Linked DNA regions of Homo sapiens: region 2 is linked to region 1. Evidence: promoter capture Hi-C in 16 types of primary human blood cells and fetal thymus (Javierre and others, 2016). All regions are on one chromosome and are shown on one strand. The core of a region is centred on a gene start or on the middle of the fragment in contact, and the rest is flanking DNA. Distances in the headings are between cores, read along the strand shown.

What was found. Contacts are between HindIII fragments. The CHiCAGO score rates a contact against its expected background, and 5 or more counts as called.
Region 2: a contact is called between a fragment that was not itself captured here and the fragment with the promoter of ZNF501 in region 1, in 5 of 17 cell types (naive B cells, total CD8 T cells, naive CD8 T cells and 2 more). The highest score is 7.1, in naive B cells.

The regions. Positions count from the first base shown.
Region 1 is chr3:44,727,871-44,730,902 of GRCh38, reverse strand. It overlaps ZNF501 (zinc finger protein 501), which reads right to left and starts at 1,268. Exons shown (of 3, transcript NM_001258280.2): 1 at 888-1,268. It overlaps LOC105377056 (a long non-coding RNA gene), which reads left to right and starts at 1,377. Exons shown (of 3, transcript XR_940788.4): 1 at 1,377-2,111. RefSeq lists an enhancer at 1,388-1,457. The HindIII fragment of the contact is 3,071 bases long and covers 418-3,032 here.
Region 2 is chr3:44,342,860-44,345,836 of GRCh38, reverse strand. All of the region lies in intron 1 of TCAIM (T cell activation inhibitor, mitochondrial), which reads right to left. Among named protein-coding and RNA genes, the nearest start is that of TCAIM, 5.6 kb to the right of the region's middle. The HindIII fragment of the contact is 1,143 bases long and covers 1,126-2,268 here.

The DNA of each region.
Region 1 (3,032 bases), core at 19-2,518:
CCTTCCAGTCCATCTTTGATTGAATCTGTTTATTCATTTATTTGAAAAGTACTAAATGAGCTAGCCGTGAGGTGAATGGGTCTTGTTAAGAACGGGCTGAATCAACAGCAGGGAAACTTCCTGTCAGTTATCCTCCTACAATTAGAATTGGGGGAATTTCTCGAAAATAACAAGAGGATTGCCTTTGTGTAAGGAGTATCTGCTGTAAGATGTTAAGGACTCTTCATAAGGGAAAGGTTTCAAGAACCCTCCTAATGCAAAGAACACTGTATTCAAAGGCAGGAACCTGGTTTCCTGTCTAATACATCCCAATCCACTAGCATCTCTTAACTGACACTGAACAAACTGTTTAATTATTTTCAAACGTCTCTTTTATTTCCTCATTTGGTCAAATAAGCCAGCAATTATTTTCAAGCTTGCAGTCAACCTTTAATATTTAGCTCAAATGTGAAACTTCACACCTCTTCCTTGTGGGAAAATTTTGACTTTTCCAAGGCCCTTCCTCGTCTACATTCTCAAAGAATTTTACAAGTTTCTACTGTAGGACTTTCTAGTCTGATTACATTCTGTCTTCCACCAGCAAACTTACAAGTATGGCATGGGCTCCAGGACTAGGACTTTTGAACAAGTTACCTAACCTTTTTTTGCTCCAGTTTTTTCAACTGTTAAATGGAGACGATACCAGTAACTACTTTATAGGGTTGTCGTAATGAATAAGTGGGTTACTACATGGCAACTACTTAGAAGAATGCCAGCTGGTAAGCATTCAATAAATAGTGCCTGCTGTTAAAGTATTGAGTCTACATGTCTTCATACGGTACCTATTTTGTTGTTGTTAGAGAAGAATAAATAATGAAGGGAAGGCACTAATTCTTGCATATACTTACTTCAACCCGCACAACTTTGGGAAACGGCAAGGCAGGAAACAGTATTTACTTCTGGAAATCAGAAAACTAAAGTGCCCAGAAGTTCACTGACATGCTTAAGTATGTATAAATCGAACCCAGGTCCTCCGACTCCCAGCCTAGGGCTCTCGAACAGCCTCTCCTTTCTTCATGGCAAGTTTGCCCTAGGCCTCGGGCCTCCGCTCCACAGGCCCTCCAGGAAGAAAAACGCCCTGCTTCCCGAGGGAGGAGCTGGAATCGACCCGCGGCAGCCGGGCACAGCAGAAACCGCTCACCATGCGCTTCCCGCGGCGCTCCCCGCGGCGCTCCCCTCTCGCACCTTGCAACACTCAGGTCCCTGGGTGCTGCCCTGCGGAAAGGAGTAAGTCCCGGACGCGCCCAGCCGGCGTGACGTCAGCAGTCCGCGCCTCGGCTAATAACCACTACCGTCTCCTCTCTAGGAAGGTGGGAGCGGCTTCCGCTCGGTGGTTCCTTCCCGCACGCAGCTACGGGTTTCGGTGCTGCGCCGGTTAAGCCGGCACCAGAAACAACCTGCGACCCCACCTGGCGTGCGTCTTCCAGCACAGGGAAACGGGATGGAAGTCAGAAGGGTCGACCACAAGGAGCTCTTACTGTGCATCAGTTCATCCTGCAAGTCCGCCACATTTAGCTTCCTATGTTACTGTCCTTTGGGGATTCTCAAGGCTTTTCACAAAACTGGCTTCCACCTTCCTCACACACATCCTCATCTGGAAGAAAACTGACCTCTTCACAGAAACCCCTGACACCTTACTGACCCAGGATCTTTGTTCAGGTGGCCAAAAGAAAAAGTTCTGCAGGCCAGGCGCGGTGGCTCACTCCTGTAATCCCAGCACTTTGGGAGGCCGAGGCGGGCGGATCACCTGAGGTCAGGAGTTCAAGACCAGCCTGCCCAACATGGAGAAACCCTGTCTCTACTAAAAATACAAAAATCAGCCGGGTGTGCTGGTGGGCGCCTGTAATTCCAGCTACTCCGGAGGCTGAGGCGCGAGAATCACTTGAACCTGGGAGGGGGAGGTTGCAGTGAGCAGAGACTGAGCCACTGCACTCCAGCTTGGGTGATAGAGTGAGACTCTGTCTCAAAAACAAAACAAAACAAATCAAACACTGCTTTGGGCTCAAATCCCTGATTCTCAGTGTATGAACTTTGCAACTTTACCTCTCTGTGCCTGCTTCCTCACTTACCAGGTATAATAATGGTACCACAGGGTTGTTGTGAGGATTAAGTGAGGTTAATACGTGTGAATTACTAAGAACATCTAGTATTTTTTAAATCTTCAGTAAATGTTAGGACTATTGTCTGTGTCTCAAATCCCAGCTCCAGTACCTATTGTTCTGCCCTGACTTCACTGACCTTTCAGGGCCTCAAGGTAGCACACCCATCCCTTTCTACAAAACTTCAGATCTTGCTGGCTCTAACTCAGGAAATATTTGCACACATGGGCTCATCTTGACAGGTAAAGTCCAGAGATAAAGGCATGAGTGGAGAGTACCTTATTCACTTCCAAGCATTCCTACTGATCTGCAATCTCAGGACAATAGGGCTGTGTGCACACCATCATATCCCTAGTGTGCAGCATATAGAAGTGAACACTTGCTGTATAAATTAATGAGATGCAGCAGAGAAATTATCCATTCCAGGCCAGGCATGGTGGCTCACACCTGTAATCCCAGCACTTTGGGAGGCCATGGGGGGCGGATCACGAGGTCAGGAGTTTGAGACCAGCCTGACCAACATGGCGAAACCCCGTCTCTACTAAAGATACAAAAATTAGCCGGGCGTGGTGGTGTGCCCCTGTAATCCCAGCTACTCAGGAGGGTGAGGCAGGAGAATCACTTGAACCTGGGAGGCGGACTTGCAGTGAGCCGAGATCATGCCACTGCACTCCAGCCTGGGTGACAGAGCCAGACTCCATCTTAAAAAAAAAAAAAAATATCCATTCCAATCTTCAGATTGGCTGTTTTCCCAAAATGGAGTCCCTTTTGGACACAAATCAGGAATGCTGGTGCCACAGACTGAGGCCATCGCTATCTTTGGCTAAAAAGTGACCCTTTGTAAAATTGTCAGTTGACATGCCATGTAACAATAATGTTAAGTTTCCCTCTCCA
Region 2 (2,977 bases), core at 448-2,947, 390 kb after region 1:
TCTGGTTTTACCTCAAACCACCACCCTTAAGTCTCTCTTAAAGTGGATAGATGATCTTGCTGGCAGGGTACACTCCAATACTTTCACCTTGATGAAGTCCTATTCTTTACTTTCATACTCACTCTTATTCTTGTTCCCGTTCTTATGCCACCCTCTACCTCTCCCCAGCTATCTCCACCACACTATCAATCTCACTCACTCTCTCCTAGCCGTTTCTAATCCTTCTTTAACAAACAATTGCTGGCTTTGTATTTCTCTTTCCTCCAAAATCGTGGAGGACTCGTTAGTCACTGCTAAAAAAAAAGGGGACTCTGTATATTAAACGAAGAGTGTTGTTTTTACCTAAATCAATCTGGCCTGGTATATGACAACATAAAAAAACTCAAAGATAGAGCCCAAAAACTTGCCAACCAAGCAAGTAATTATGCTGAACCCCCTTGGGCACTCTCTAGTTGGATGTCCTGGGTCCTCCCAATTCTTAAGTCCTTTAATACCTGTTTTTCTCCTTCTCTTATTTGGACCTTGCGTCTTCTGTTTAGTTTCTCAATTCATACAAAACCGTATCCAGGCCATCACCAATCATTCTATACAACAAATGCTCCTTCTAACAACCCCACAATATCACCTCTTACCACAGAATCTTCCTTCAGCTTAATCTCTCCCACTCTAGGTTCCCACGCCGCCCCAATCCTGCTCGAAGCAGCCCTGAGAAACGTCGCCCATTATCTTTCCATACCACCCCCAAAAATTTTCAGGGCCCCAACACTTTACCACTATTTTATTTTTCTTATTAATGTAAGAAGACAGGAATGTCAGGCCTCTGAGCCCAAGCCTGAACGTATACATCCAGATGGCCTGAAGTAACTGAAGAATCACAAAAGAAGTGAAAATGGCCGGTTCCTGCTTTAACTGATGACAATACCTTGTGAATTGAATTCCTTCTCCTGGCTCAGAAGCTCCCCGACTGAGCACCTTGTGACCCCCGCCCCTGCCCGCAAGAGAACAATCCCCTTTGACTGTAATCTTCCCCACTACCTACCCAAATCCTATAAAACTACCCCACCCCTAACTCCCTCTGCTCTCTTTTTGGACTCAGCCCGCCTGCACCCAGGTGAATAAAAAGCTTCATTGCTCTCTCCAAGCCTGTTTGGTGGTCTCTTCACACGGACGCGTGTGACAGTAATAAGGTCATTAGTGCCCTTATAAAAAGTCCTGTCCTCTGATCAAAACTATCAGAAAAAAGGAAAATTACAAAAAAGGAAAAAGAAAAAAGCCCCAGAGGGCTATCTTGCCCCCTACCATGTGAAGTTATAGCAAGACAACAAATCTGCAGACATCTTGATGTTGAATTTCCCAGACTCCAGAACCGCAAGAAATATATTTCTGTTGTTTTTAAGCTATCTGGTTTATGATAGTTTGACACAGCAGCTGAAGACTAAGATAGTATCCTTAATGACTTTTAATCATGGAGGATAAAGTATGTTGTGTGTAAGATGGAATTATGTAGCACATTTCAGAAGCATTTCAGAAGCATTTCTGAGGCTCGGTATGGTGGCTCATCCCTGTAATCATAGCACTTTGGGAGGTGAAAATGGGCAGGAGTTCAAGACCAGCCTGGCCAACATGGCAAAACCCCATCTCTGCTAAAAATACAAAAATTAGCTGAGTGTGGTGACACACGCCTGTAATTCCAGCTACTTGGGAGGCTGAGGCCTTGAGCCTGGGAGGTGGAGTTTGCAGTGAGCTGAGATTGCACCACTGCACTCCAACCGGGGTGATGGAGTGAGACTCTCTCAAAAAAAAAAAAAAAAAAGCATTTCCATCAAAAATAATCAAAGCAAAATAAAATTTGTGTAAAGTTCAAGGTCTTTAGTTATCCAGAAAAATACATTCATCCACTAATCGCTTTGTAATCACAGAGTATAACTAAACTACTACTGAGAAATGACTAATAAAGGACATTAGTGCTTAGAAATGTGACAATAGATTTTCTCAACAAAAATAAAATGTTACCAAATACAAATCTAAACATTAAATCATGGTTTCCAGATTTAGAAAGAGAGCACTAAAAAAATGACAGGTTGAGAATTAGGTGTTTTCTATCTGCTTATTTTGTGAGCAAGCTATTTCCTAAAAAGGTTTACATTTCAGTAGAGTAATAGAATTACAATCTAGGCCTCTGCTGTCTAAAACAGTAGGCAGCCACTAGCCACATGTAGCTACTGTGCACTTGAAATGTGGTTAGTCTAAATAGAGATGTGTTAAGCTTAACATACCCACTGGATTTAAAAGATTCAGTACAAACAATGGAAAGTATCTCAGTAATAATTTTTCATATTGGTTATGTGTTGAAATTATAATTTATTAAAATTAATTTCACTTTTACTTTTTAAAAAGTAAAACATCTAGTTTTTAGAAAATTTTAAATTATATCCAAGGCTTACATTCTATTTTTATTGGATTGTGCTGATCTAAACACTTCCAGTGAATGTGACTGTCAAAGTAGGTAGTTTGCATAATGGTTAGGAAATGGAGGCTAGGGGGCTTGAGATTTGTATTCAAATCTTGACATCTTCAGTGACTGTGTGAGCAAGGGCAAGTTACGTTACCTTCTGGAGTCTGTTTCCTCATCTCTTAAATAACATAGATGGTTAAGAAAAGTCTGTTGTAACACCAAAACATTTCTTCTTTTTTTTTTTTGAGACAGAGTCTCGCTCTGTCACCTGCGCTATAGTGCAGTGGCATGATCTCGGCTCACTGCGACCTCTGCCTCCCAGGTTCAAGCGATTCTCGTGCCTCAGCTTCCCGAGTAGCTGGGATTACAGTCGCCTGCCACCGCACCCAGCGAATTTTTGTATTTTTAGTAGAGATGGAGTTTCTCCATGTTGGCCAGGCTGGTCTCGAACTCCTGACCTCAGCTGATCCTCCTTCCTCGGCCTCCCAAAGTGCTGAGATTACAAGCCTGAGCCACTGTGTC